Regions from separate parts of the Homo sapiens genome. Here region 2 is linked to region 1. The links are contacts of gene promoters, found by promoter capture Hi-C in blood cells and fetal thymus (Javierre and others, 2016). All regions are on one chromosome and are shown on one strand. The core of a region is centred on a gene start or on the middle of the fragment in contact, and the rest is flanking DNA. Distances in the headings are between cores, read along the strand shown.

Region 1 (7,325 bases), core at 2,808-5,307:
TCTTGCGTCTGGGAATTCTGTGCATGGGACAGTCTGACCCAAATAATTATCCTGCTTAAAATGCCTAAAGCACCACTATTGATGAAAAAAAAACCAGAATGATCTCAATAGGCAGGCCTCAGAGTGTCAGGGAATGCAAAAGTAGAGATACTGAGAAATCCAATCATTAGTGGTTGAGGTCAGTTACCAAGTAATAGGGCCTCTAGCCACCTGGCTTAAGGCAGGATTCCTGTCTCTAGGGGAGGAGGCACAGGGTGGAAAGAGTGATGTAGAACTCAGATTTTATAGGAGTGGAGACAAAGACTCCAGATGCTGAACACATAGGGCTCTTCATGCAGTACCGTGGTCAACAGGCATGTCTCTGAGTTCTACCCCAGCTCTGCTACTTACATTTCTGTGTAAAGCTATTTGTCTGAGCCTTGATCTCCTTCTCCACAAAGGAGGCATAATAAAAATAGTATCTATCTGATAGGGATGCTGTATGGATCAAGAGTGATAATACAGACAGGTGATTAAGCATGGCGCCTGATTCATTGTAAATGTGCAGTCAAGGGAAGCTACTATGATTATTGTTATTAATAACAATGACAGAGATCCAATTAGGAGAATTTGGCCAGGTAAGGTGGCTCACGCCTATAATCTCAGCACTTTGGGAGGCTGAGGCAGTGGATCACTGGATCCCAGGAGTTCGAGCCCAGCCTGGCAACACAGTGAGACCCTGTCTCTACAAAAAGTTTTTAAAATTAGCTGAGTGTGGTAGCATGTGCCTGTGGTCCCAGCTACTTGGGAGGCTGAGGTGGGAGGATAGGTTGAGCCTGGGAAGAGGAGGCTACAGTGAGCTGAGATTGTGCCACTGCACTCCAGTCTGGGGGACAGAGCAAGACCCTGTGTCAAAAAACAAAACAAAACAAAAACAATTAGGAGAATTTGGGTAATAAGTTGGGACCTTGGCCTCAAGAAAGCAAAAATACCCTTACTAGTCTGGACATCATGTCACACCTCTATCAGAGTGTGAAGGCAGAGCTTCTCAGCGCCCTCCTGTGTCCGAGTAGGGTTGGTGCTTGGGACAAGGATGGCTGTGATGTTGCTGCTGGAAACTCAGCAAGTCTTTCTATGAGGAGAGGGAAAGTAGAAGATCCCAACTTGGCCGTGAAAGAACTAGCAGCCTCACTGGGGAGCCAGAACCAACACTCATCAACAATGAAAAGCAATAGCCTGATGTGGTGGCGGGCACCTGGAGTCCCAGCTGCTTGGGAGGCTCAGTGGGGAGAATGACTTGAACCTAGGAGTTTGAGTCTACCCTGGACCACACAGGGAAACCGTATCTCCAAAAAAAGCAAAACAAAACCAATCAACCAAACAAACAAAACAAAACAACTAAAGGCAATATCACGTAAAATAGGATTGCAAATAAAAATAATATCTTTTGTTCTATATGGGAACAAAAAGATATGGGAAAACAAAAGTTTGAAAGGACATGCCTGACATGTTAACAGTGGAAACCTATGGGAGATGAGAATATGACTTTTTTATAAATCATGAATTTATTTTGTAATTTAAAAACACTGTTAGATCCAAGTGATACAAGACAGCATATAATTCACAGTTAAGAGTTCAACATGGCCAGGCACCGTGGCTCATACCTGTAGTTCCGGCAATTTGGGAGGCCAAGGCAGGCGATTTCTTGAGCCCAGGAATTCAAGACCAGCCTAGACAACATGGTGAAGTCCCATCTTTACAAAAAATACAAAAATTAGCGGGACGTGGTGGTGAGCACCTGTAGCCCCAGCTACTTGGGATGCTGAGGCGGGAGGATCACTTGAGCCCAGGAAAGCGAGACCATAGTGAGCCATAATCACACCACTGTGCTCCAGCCTGGGTGACAGAGTAAGACCTTGTCTCAAAAAAGAAACAAAAGAGCATCACAGAAATGAGGAATCATGTGTTCTTGAATAGTGTGGGAAGCTCTCATAAGGAGGTGGCATTTTGGGGATCCTGAAGGGTAGACAGGGTTCAGATATATGGATGTGAAAAATACACTAGAGAATAGACCTAAGTAAGTGAATAAGCACAACAGGTGTGCCAGTGATTGACTTATTGCCTGTCGACACTAAATCCACTCTTTACTCCGCTTGTGATTCTGGACCTAGACCCTGTAGACATCCTCTTTCACCAGCTGGCATAATTTTAGGCTTTGTCCTGATACAATGTATCTGATGGATGGAGAAATGTCCTCCTGACCAACAAAGGGATTACAGAGAGGAGACCAAGACTGGCCAGATAAAGTACAATAAGATCAAGCAGGGTTGGTCAGGCGTGGTGGCTAACGCCTGTAATCCCAGCACTTTGGGAGGCCGAGGCGGGTGGATCACCTGAGTTCGGGAATTCAAGACTAGCCTGACCAACATGGAGAAACCCCATCTCTACTAAAAATACAAAATTAGCCGAGCGTGGTGGTGTGCGCCTGTAATCCCAGCTACTCAGGAGGCTGAGGCAGGAGAATCGCCTGAACTCGGGAGGCAGAGGTTGTGGTGAGCCGAGATAGTGCAATTACACTCCAGCCTGGGCAACAAGAGCAAAACTCCGTTTCAAAAAAAAAAAAAGATGAAGCAGGGTCTTAAACTTCAGGCAGGAAAGGAATTTGTTCATGAACTGAAAGACGAATGAGAAATCTATTAGGGGCCGCCGAATGCAACTATGAGGCTTTCCAAGCCTTTTGCCTTCTCGCCTTCTCATCTCTGCCTCCTAAGCCTCATCCTTGAAAGTCTGGACCTTCCTGACAGGTACTGATCCCTCGTCATGTTGTCCAGGATATTGTCACTCCCCGAAACACCCTCTTCCAGTCCTTCACGCCTTGATAAATATCTATTTGTCCTTCAAAAGGCTCATCGAGCATTATTTTGGTGGGTTTCCTTTGGTTCTCCTCCCTCCAGCTTAATAGCCTTCTCATTTATATTACTTTTATTCTATACATCAAATTAAATCGGCCTTATTTAGTAGCTTTAATCATCTTTTCTACTAGAATGAACTTCTTAATGGCTTTCATTCTCTCTTGTGTTGCCAAGGCCTGGCAGACTACCTAGAACAAAACATATGAACTGAACTGATTTAGGCTGTACTGCGGATGTCTCTAAAAGGAAGAATAGCACTGAGGGTATCTCTAGAAGAAATAATTGGTTTTTGTTTGTTCGTTTTTTTTTGTTGTTTTGTTTTGTTTTGTTTTTGTTTTTTTGAGATGGAGCCTCGCTCTGTCACCCAGGCTTGACTGCAGTGACGCAATCTCAGCTCACGCAACCTCCGCTTCCCGGGTTCAAGCAATTCTCTGCCTCAGTCTCCCAAATAGCTGGGATTACAGGCGCTCGCCACCACACCTGGCTAATTTTTGTATTTCTAGTAGAGACGGGGTTTCACCATCTTGGCCAGGCTGGTTTTGAACTCCCAACCTTGTGATCCGCCCACATCGGCCTCCCAAAGTGCTAGGATTACAGGTGTGAGCCACCACGCCCGGCCAAGAATTGTATATTTTTAGGGGATCAGAACACTTAGAATTAGTGGGACATTATTGCTAGGGTTAAGATAGCATTTCAGTATTTCTGGTATAGAGGATGTTGGCTATCCACTGTCTATTCCAGTAAATTTCCTCACCATAATATCTCTCTATCTCTGTCTGTCTGTCTTCTCTCTCTTGCACACATGAGAGAGAACTATTACCTGCCGGGTAAATAGTGGGAGAATTAGGACCTACTGTGAATCGTCTGCCTGGGGCCCAACCTGTAACATCACAAGAAGAAAAACATCTGTACTTCCTTATGAGGTTCTTTTCAATGTCCATTTTAGTTCAAATGTCCTCATAACATAAAGGGAGGGGGAAGTTCAGAGACACATCATAGAATATTCATCACATTGCTGGCATTCTGGGAAGAATCAGGCTGGTTAAGTGACTCCCAGGCTGCTCTTACCTATCCAGAGCCTAGAGCATCTAGATTTTGATTGGACCATTGCCAGAACTCATTAGCATAGTGTACCCTGACCTGGAATAGGGAACAGCGTCTGCTCAGAAAATGACCAGAGCCTGCTGGGACTTGAACCAGCAGTAAGATTTTCACGACACAGTGCTGTCTGCTTCTCCGTAAGAAGTTAGAAGGTAAGAAAGCCAGAAATCCCGTGGAGAGGCAAATGTAAGGGATGTGGCAACGACCACTCTATTCCTACAGGGTTTCATTTGTTCTAGTTCATTTTTCTGTAGAAATGATGAAAATTGAATATACTTTGCGCAAGTTGCTTTAAAAAAAGGAGTCTTGACAAGTGTAGTTTTTCAATCCTAGAAGAGGAAAACAGAGTTTACTTAAGGGCTGTAAAATGGTTTTTTCTTCTTTTCTATGTTTTGTTCTTAACTTTTAGGGAAATATTAAATTAATGCTCATTCGCTTAGCAAATGTTAATATCGAGAGAAAAATCTAAAATGTAACATAGTTGTTCTGTAATAAAATTTTCTTTATTATTCTTCCCTTAATTTAAAAACAAAATAATTATGTCTATATTGCCTAGGCTTTATAACAATGTTTTTGATTTTTGAAAATATGAATCTTATTTGCCAAGGTTTTTAAAAAGTAGATCTATTCCAATTAGTTATAACAAAATTTGCACCATCAGAGACAATATCGTTACTGTTCAGGGTAAGTACACGGAACTGCTGCTTGGTATCTGCATCTTCTATACCTGTTATTTAAGTCCTTTGAATTAGAGTCAATTTGCGGCATCATTTCTTCAGTAACACAATGTTTCTTTCCTAAACATAGAATTTTACTTAAAATCCATGAGGATTTAGTCTTGAAAATCAACATTCAGTTGGGGAACAGAAACTTCGTGCTCTGCAACCACTAGGTTGTAGCTCAGTATGGGTATGTGGAACAGACAGGAAGAGACTCTGATTAGCTTGTCATTTAATGGTCAAGAACTTTATTTATAAAGACTATACTTTCAGGGATCATTTCTATAGTTTGTTACTAGAGAAATTTCTCTGGACATCTAGAGCACACACAAAAAAGAAAAAAGGAACTTCATTCTTATGTTCAGGTCAACGGTCTTTTATATACATACACTTTCCCTTGGTAGAGTTCAGTGATTGACAAGTATTAGGATTATATAACACTAAATAACTAAAGAACAGGCCGGGCACAGTGGCTCATGCCTGTAATCCCAGCACTTTGGGAGACAGAGACGTATGGATCACCTGAGGAAAGGAGTTCAAGACCGGCCTGGTCAACATGGTGAAACCCCATCTCTACTGAAAATACAAAAATTAGCTGGGTGTGGTGGTGCGTGCCTGTAATCCCAGCTACTTGGGAGGCTGAGGTAAAAGAATCACTGGAGCCCCAGAGGTGGAGGCTATGGTGAGCTGAGATTGCGCCACTGCACTCCAGCCTGGGTGATAAGAGTAAGACTCCATTAAAAAAAAAAAAAAAAAAAAAACAATAAAAACTAAAGAAAAGAGTTCATGGGTCTCGCCAAAGCTTAGACTATTAATCTACCTTATAGTTTGAGTTCGCTATTAAATAGCTCTACATAACATCATTATGTCTCTTGTTTTTATAAGAGTACCAATAAATGAAATGTTATACATGTGAACATGTTTCACTTCATATCGTACTAACAAGTAGCTTTCATCTGCAAAATTATTCATTTTTTTCCTCAGGGTAGAACACTTCAAATTTTCTTTCTTTTTTTCTTGGTAAACCTCCTTTAACCAATTATAGTTAGAAATTAGAGCACTATTTCTCGTGAGGGAAGAAATGCCATTTGAACAAACTTTTATTTATTCATTCATTTATTTATTTATTCATTCATTCATTTATTTATTTTTTGAGACAAGGTCTCACTCTGTCACCCAGGCTGGCATGCAGTGACACAATCTTGGCTCACTGCAGCCTCAACCTCCTGGGCTCGGGTAATCCTCCACCTCAGCCTCCCAAAGTAGCTGGGACTACAGGTGTGCACCACCATGCCCAGCTAGTGATTTGTACTTCTTGTATAAACACGGTTTCTGCATGTTTCTCAGGCTGGTCTTGAACTCATAGACTTAAGTGATACATGTGTCTTGGCCTCCCAAAGTATTGGGATTACAGGCTGCTAGCACCTAATGGGTAGAGACCAGGGATGCTGCCAAACAGTCTACAACATGAAAAAAGCTCCCCACAACAAAGAATTATCTGGTCCAAAATGTCAATAGTGCCAAACTTAAGAAACCCTGTTTCAGATTAATCAGATATAAGCATATTAGTTGATAATATTTGAAGATATATCGTGCGCACAGGATTTATTGCAGAGACCAAACCTAATCCTTACAGTGATTTGGATTTTCAAATATATTTTTTTTCTGGCCGGGTGCGGTGGCTCACGCCTGTAATCCCAACACTTTGGGAGTCCGAGGCGGGTAGATCACTTGAGGTCAGGAGTTCGAGACCAGGCTGGCCAGCAGAGTGAAACCCCATCTCTACTAAAAATACAAAAATCAGCTGTGCGTGGTGGCACATGCCTGTAATCCCAGCTACTGGGGAGGCTGAGGCAGGAGAGTTGCTTGAACCCAAGAGGCAGAGGTTGCAGTAAGCCGAGATCACTCCATTGCACTCCAGCCTGGGTGAAGAAGTGAGACTCCATCTCAAAAAAAAAAAAAAAAAAAAATATATATATATATATATATATAAAACATATATGTATTTTCCTAGATAAATTCAGTGTGATGTTCCCCTCTTGCAGCTTCAACCACACATTAGCTAATTTATAAAGGCATTTCTATGGAAACAACTCCAAGCCAGTATCCTCCTGCCCTAGCAGGAAAAGTCCTAGCCATTGGTTACAGATGACAACTGTCTCTGCTAAGGCCTTCACAACCTGGATCTTGCAATGAGAAAGCAAGCCCAAACCCAAGGGTGAAAGCAGTGATCACACGCTTCTAATTCCCGATGGCCAAGTTTTAAGTAAAATCACTTATGGCTCCTATGTTTTGTTTTTTACTAGTATGTTGGTACTTGCAAAAATGTCAGTGAAACAGGTTTTTCTGGCAGAGGAGCATTGGGGTTTTTTTTTAAATCTCTTTAATGGCCAATACTAATATAACTTATTTTTTTAGCCCTAGAAAACAATCTCCTGGTCCAAGGTGCTTGAGTGGGCCGATCCAGCTATATCAAGAACCTTTGAGAACAAAATTCTCAAGCATTTCTGAGGGGAGTCGAATAGGTGAAAACCTTGGCTGGCCTGACCTTATCATGGAACCTGACGACTTTGATTCTGAAGACAAAGAGATATTAAGCTGGGATATTAATGAT
Region 2 (7,325 bases), core at 1,958-4,457, 290 kb before region 1:
GTCTCAGTAGGAAGAGTAGATAAATGTTTGTGCTTAATTAACCACCTGAATTGAAAGCATTTCCCTCTGGTTTACACATTTGATAATTCTTCAGAACTGTGGGTCTGTTCACGGTGTTCTTTTGGTTTCCGGCATTTGATGGAGATATCTATAGACATTGTAGATGTAGATATAGATACACTTTCCCCTGTGACTTCATAGAATGAACCCAAGGGGAAACTCATGTACGTTCAATCTGTGTCTTTTTTTTTTTTTTTTTTTTTTTTAGATGGAGTTTCACTCTTTTTGCCCAGGCTGGAGTGCAATGGCGCAATCTCGGCTCACCGCAACCTCCGCCTCCCGGCTTCAAGTGATTCTCCTGCTCAGACTCCCAAATATCTGGGATTACAGGCATGCGCCACCATGCCTGGCTAATTCTGTGTTTTTAGTAGAGATGGGGTTTCTCCATATTGGTCAGGCTGGTCTCGAACTCCCAACCTCAGGTGATCCGCCTGCTCGGCCTCCCAAAGTGCTGGGATTACAGGCGTGAGCCACCATGCCCAGCCTCAATCTGTGTCTTAATCCAGCCTCTCTAGCTATCTTTCATTAAGAAGCAACCCCCTCAGGATCTGTATTTCCGTGATTATGTTTTAGGGACTAATTGAGCCTGCGACACACCTTCTTTCTTGACCTCAAGCTGGATTTCAATACCAATGATCTCAAGAACTGACTATTGGAAGGAGACTCCCTGACACCTCTGACCACCCCGGGAATCATGTAGCTTGCAGCCTGTCACCACAAGCCTCCTGGTGGGAGTCAGGAGTGTATGGTATGAATACCAACACCTGCTGGAGATGGCACATATGCTTAAAGCTAACTTTCCCCATCAAACTTTCCTCCTCCACCAACAACATCACTGAAAGGACAGAATCCCATATCCTAGATGCTCCTTTGACACAAAAACCTGGAGAAATCACTGGGAGTAGTTCCTTCTTTCCTCTTGTTCAAACACTCACTCATCCCAAACCAAGTCTTCACCTTGAACCCAAATGCTAAATCAGGTTCCTTCTAATCTGGCAGTGTCTCTACCACATGCGCTAAATTCCAATAGAAGTATAGCCTGTTTTTGAAAGTAGGGTAAAAATAGATCCTATTTTTAGGATAAAAATAAATCAGGGTAAAAATATTTAAAAGCAATCTTTCTAATTACCATATTTTATAAAAGACACAGAGCAAGTGTGAAGATGCTTGTTTGTGAAGTGATGTGCAGCTATTGATGAGGGGCAGGGCAGACCCCTTGCCCTTGCCTGGGCTCCAGGTCCACAGTATAGGGGTAAGAGCTCGAGCTCTGGGGTCAGACTGTAAGAATCTTGATCTGCTTCTTATTGTCTGGTTTTAGACAAGTCACTTAACTTCACTAAGCCTAAGCCTTAGTTTCTTCATTTGCGAAATGGAAGTAATAACAGTAACTGTCATTAAATTCTCACTCCACTCCTTACCCAAGAATTTATTTCAAATGGACAAAGCTGAATGTTTACCCAAAACAACTATAAAACCAGCAAAGTAACTACAGGTGAACATTTTAAATTCTTGAGAAAAGGAGGACACTAAGCATTTCAGCTATTGATTAAGCAAAAACTTCATGGCTCAAAACAACCACCATATTTGTAACCACGATTCTGCAACTGGACTGGCCTCTAGTGGGAAGCACTTTGCTGGTGTTGCCAGTGGTCACTCAACTCAGGTGTGGAAATCTCAATGGTTTCATTCACATGTCTGGTGCCTCCACGAGGAGGGCTGGAAAAGCTGCGACCTAGTCAGATATGCCCCTCTTTCTCTCATAGCATGGAGTCTCAACATGTCTGGACCTCTTTAGATGTTGGCTCAAGTCTCGGTGATAGAGCATTCCAAGAGGAGACGTTTCAAGGTGTAAGTTTCAGTGTGTAAGTTTCAACGTGTAAGTGCTTATCAAGCTTTTTCCTTGCATCATGCTTTGCTAATTTCTCTTTGGCCAAAGAAAGCTTCATGGCCAAGTTGCAGTGGGAGGGGACCACAAAAGGGCATGGATGCTTGGAGGCATGATTCATTGGGAAACATTAATGTAACATTCTTCTACACTAAGGCAAGAAATGAAATAGAAAACCATTTTTTAAAAAAAAAAACATGTATTTGACCACATGCATTTAAAAATTTGTCTTTGGAAAAACATCATTATTTAAATTGAATGAAGGAAATATATACATCTTTCATATGCAAAAAGTCTTACAAATTAATAAGAAAGCATTCAGTCAGAAAATGGGCAAAAGGCAAGAACAATTTCCAAAAGAAGAAAAATGAATTGCCAATAAGCATACAAAAATGTTTCAACCTAACTAGTAATCAAAGAAGTGTACATTTAAAATAATTATATTATTCCATTCCCACATTTCATTGGCAAAGATAATGTGGTAGATTATATTTTTTACCAGTTATTCACTGCCTCTTCCTTTTCAAGGATTATAACTCTCTGCTTCACTGAAATCAGCCTTTGCAGTATGACTTGCTCTGACCAGTGAAATGTAAGCAAGTGTGATATGTGTCATTTCTGAGCAGAGAATTTTTAAGAGTCATTCTGGAGTTTCATTATCCCTCTGCTTCCTTTGGCATCAGACTGAGATGGGGCTGCTCCTTTAGTCTGAGCCCTGAGATCAATGGCACATGGAGAAGAGCTTAAGTCAATCTGCAGCTAACATATGTGAAAAGGAAAAAAATGTTGGTTGTAAGCCACTGCCATTTGCCAGGTCATTAGTTACTGCAGCATAATCTCACAAACACTGACTGACACAAATTACAGCGTTGGCAAGTTCATGAGGAAATGAGTATTCTTGTGACTGTTGGATGGAATAAAATTGGTCTAACCTTTCTAGAGGGCAATTTTTCAAGTGTATCACAGTTACAGTAATTGTAACTTTTGACTCAGTAATATATCTCCTGGAAATTTATTCTAAGACCATACACATAGAAGTACACAAGATATATGCAAAAAGATTCTCACTGCAGCCTTAGTTATTGTGGAAAATAACCTAAATTATTTCTTCAGTACATATCTTATTTGCCTCCACAGGTTTTCTTAGCTGTCTCATTGACCCTGGTTTGCTTTGTTTTACCTAAGCACTTGCTATGACTGACCTGCTAGGTGTAGACCTATAAAAATCTACCTCCTGGGGCCGTCAGCTACACATTTACAGTCTCTGGTCCTTCCTGTCACTTCCAAATTTAGATAGAGAATCTCATTTCAGGACATGGGATGTGGTTTGGCAAGTGACTCCCAAAGATGCTGAGTGATGTGAGGGAGTAAACTTCCTCATGAGACAAAATTTGACCAGTGGAAGAAAGAAGTCAAAAGGAGGCAGCAGATAAATACCTTCCCCTTCTTTCCTTTAAAAGACTGTTCCAAGATAGGATTTCTCCATACGGCCTTTCTGAGCACATAGTGCCTGATCCAGGAAGTGCCCCCGCTAACAGACTTTGCCTCTGAGAGTGTCATCAGGAAGCAAAACACATTGCATGGTGTTGCTCCTTCTCTGCCACTATTCCCTGTATCTTTTCCTCCACTCTTGCTGCCCTAGAATTGCATGTCCCAGTTAAAATCTGGGCTTATACAAGTTGGTTTTGAAAGTTGGTTTTAAAAATCAATTATGCCAACAGCAGCAATTTAAAATGGTGATGTACACCTATATTCACTAACTAGGAAAGAGCTGCGAGTCATAACTTTGGAGGTAAGTTACACTTGATTGCTTCTAGAAGGTAAGAGTTTGAATAGTTTTCATTCTTCTTTTAGTCAGTATGCATTTATTGTTGCACGTTCTCCAGTGAATATGTATTATAGTTATAAACAGAATAGTTTTTTAAGAGCACAAACAGTTCTTACACTAAAATGTTGCCAAAGTTTTGACGCTATATAATTTATTCTAATGAAGAAATTTTAATAAATAAATATATCAATGCTATGTCTACATGGAAGTAATTTTTACATGTGTAAATAGATCCATACATAGTGTACAAAGTACATAAGCCATTTTTGAGGGAACTTTTATCAAATTAATTTCTTTTATATTAGACTGTCTACTGACAAACTGCTTTACTCAGCTTCCAGTTTCAGAAACAACATTTAATAATTGCTTATTCACAAAGAACAGCAGTCCCTTTATTCACTCAAAAATTTTTGGCTTACAGCCTTGTAGGCAGAGTTCACTGCACTATTTATAACTGTCCACACAAATTGGTCATAAAAGGATGGTATTTGGGGTTAGGTCATTCAGTTCCCTGCAGAACTCAGTAATAAACCTAGTAGCTACACTTAGAAATGCTACTTTATTATTTATATTTAGAGTTTTTTTCTATTTAAAGTACAACAGTTTATTTAAATCAGCAACTTATATTTGAGTAAAGCTTTTTTTTCTGTTTCCAGCAGGTAGTTTACTTAATATTCATGTGCAATATGAAATAGAAAGATTCCTGTTCTTGGAAGAAAAATCTATTAGAATCAATTTTCCCTAGTCGCTGATATATATGGAGTTTCCGTGCTTGGGCAAGTCCTTGAAAACAAATGCAGAAACAAACTTTTAAATCCTTTATAAACCCCCATCATGTGGGAATGATAATATATAATTACCTCACTTGTTAAATAGCTCTATCTGTTCCTCAAAGGTTTATTTAAATATTGTTCTTTCATGAAAGGATGTTTTAAAACAAAAATAGGGGGAAGGAGGGGAAATAGAAGTGCTCAATAAACAGGTTTATTAAGGGAAATTAAAAATCTTCGTGGTTTCATATATTCTACTGTGGACTATGAATGATGGACTTCGGTCTCGAGGTTGAATTTGGTTTTTAATAGATGTAAATTCAAATATTTGGATTTTCTGGATCTAAAGCCAAAAACTTAAACAAATGAACATTTTAAAGTAATATTTGATTATTCTCTGAAAGAAAAGTAATTCTGCCTGTCTAATCCAGTAATTTACATAATTTAGTGATTTGCTTGTCGATAATGAACAAATTGCCCTTGCCCTAGTATATTACTGTAATGGTTCATTTTCATTAAGACGTCTGTGGCTGGGCACGGTGGCACATACCTGCAATCCCAGTACTTCAAGAGGCTGAGGCGGATGGATCGCTTGAGCTCAAGAGTTTAAGACCAGCCTGGACAATATGGCGAAATCCTGTCTCTAGAAAATACAAAAAATTATCTGGGCCTGGTGGCACGTGCCTGTAGTCCCAGCTACCCAGAAGGCTAAGTGGGAAGATCACTTGAGCCCGGGAGGTGGAGGTTGCAGTGAGCCAAGGTCGCGCCACTGCACTCCAGCCTGAGCAACAGAGTGAGACCCTGTCTCAAAAAAAAAGACGTCTGCCAACTTTTCAAAAAAGGGGTAAAGCTTTTTTTCAAGTGTGCAACCTAAACAGAAAAATGCGGAGTCAAATTAAAAAACACACTAAAAAAGAAAGGCTTGCCAAATTCTAGATTCAAATGAATTGGGAAATAGATGAGTCGATGGTTCATTACAGATGTGGTACCAATGTACAGAAGTAGTCTGAAAAAGATAATTATGAAATAAGCCACAATTGACTCTGAAAGGCCACTTAGGGTAGAGCAGAGAGGATGAAATGATCATTAAAATCAATGGTTAAGGCAAAAAACATCATCTTCTAACACACATTTCCTACACCTGGTGCTGTATGTAGTCAGAAGGGGTATGTGGATAACAATGTGAAATATGGAATAAAGAAAATAATCAATATTTCAAGCCTAATACCAATGAAATCACTGGTGTTCCCTCACTCTCCCAGGAACTGGGTTCCAGAGTTTCTTACACATTCTTCTTGCAGTACTAAGTGCTCTGAAGCTCAGGGTTGTTGATGCGTGCTCCATACGGCCTGTTCTCTTCTCTGTCTCCCAGGCTCTGCCCATTACCCAGTAGTGATAAAACTAAGAAAAAGTTTTCCATCCCTTCATGGCCTCTGCAGCCCTCACTTCTTGTGATTGGAGTCAATCTTCCTGTTAACTTTGTGACATATTCTTCCTCATGTCATTACTGTCATAAGTCTAGTCACTTCTAAGGATATTCTACTGCCCTCCTGAGAAAAAGAAAATTTTCTCCACAAGGATTTCAACACTTTTGTAAGGCCTCAGGCAAAAACTTGGCCCCATTTTGCTTGTTGCACCTGGTGCCACTAGATAGCGCTCTCATTTTATTCTTCCCAGTCTACCATCGTCACCAGTTTACATGATGCTTAGTCATACATCTGTCCATGGATACATAATAGCATTTTTCAGTGACCACCAGAGTCAGTAACTGTGCTCAGTCCTGGAAATTTAATGTCGAGCAAAGTCAAAACCAACCTCAGACCTTTTGGAACTTCCTTTCTAGGGAGAGGGGAGATATGGATCCAATAACCACCAAATGCATAATTAGAAACTATGTTAAGTGTTGTGAAGGAAAGGCTCAGAAAGCTGTTAGAGCATATATGAGGATACTCATCCATCCTGGCAGAAATGAGGGGTTTGTTCCAGGGAAGGCTTCCCTAAGCAAGTAACATTCATGCTGATATCTGAGTTTTCTATGCAAAAAGAAGAAAGAAGGTTTCAGGCAGAAGCAAGAATATGTGTTAACTCCATGACACATTCAGTAATGAAAGAAGGTTAGTGTGTAGGAGCTAAATACATCTGGAAACGTTGGGAGGTACTGAAAATCTACACATTCTGGCCAGGAAGTTAAGAAACAAAGCTGTTCAGCACCCTCCTGATTTTCTCAAATATCTCAGTCCTGAAACTGTCAACTTTCTCCATTCTAAGAGGCCCAACTAGGGGAGTCCTTGCTAAGCAGAACCCCCACCACTCCAGACAGATAGTATTGTGACCACGAAATCAGCTTCCTTCTGGTAGAGTACATCATGTGCAACTTTAAAGTTGCAATGTGTAATCAGAAAGGATTCTGACAGCAAAGGGTGGTGCAGTATCCCAGACTGGCAAGATCAAAGAGCTGTTACTATTCCTAGCCTAAAAGAGAATGGAGGGGGAAAAAAAAGCAGTTTTTAGAACTGGTATAGGTTAACTGTATGGAGAGGGCACTCGACAAGAGACACCACGTTTGATAAAAGAATCAGCCAATCTGTGATGGCCTCTTAGGGAGGCAACTGGGAAGAGAAAGAAACCAATCTGTCCTCCCACTCTCCAATCTCTTGTCACTGTTGGAACCCAACTGGAAGCCAGAGAGCAAGGACACCCACATGGGTCATTTTCCCAAGACATATAGCAGAATGTAAAATGGTGAACGGGCATACCCGATGGTAGTCAGGAGAGTTAAAGC

What was found. The method cuts DNA at HindIII sites, captures the fragments that hold promoters and counts their contacts. A CHiCAGO score of 5 or more calls a contact.
Region 2: a contact is called between a fragment that was not itself captured here and the fragment with the promoter of GCM1 in region 1, in 17 of 17 cell types (activated CD4 T cells, total CD8 T cells, total B cells and 14 more). The highest score is 13.6, in activated CD4 T cells.

Annotation. Positions count from the first base shown.
Region 1 is chr6:53,145,573-53,152,897 of GRCh38, reverse strand. GCM1 (glial cells missing transcription factor 1) reads left to right here and starts at 4,057. Exons shown (of 6, transcript NM_003643.4): 1 at 4,057-4,144; 2 at 7,130-7,325. The coding sequence starts at 7,266. It also overlaps the pseudogene LOC124901513. The HindIII fragment of the contact is 12,096 bases long and covers 1-5,515 here.
Region 2 is chr6:53,436,645-53,443,969 of GRCh38, reverse strand. The region is part of intron 1 of GCLC-AS1 (GCLC antisense RNA 1); the gene reads right to left. Among named protein-coding and RNA genes, the nearest start is that of GCLC-AS1, 8.8 kb to the right of the region's middle. The HindIII fragment of the contact is 2,410 bases long and covers 2,003-4,412 here.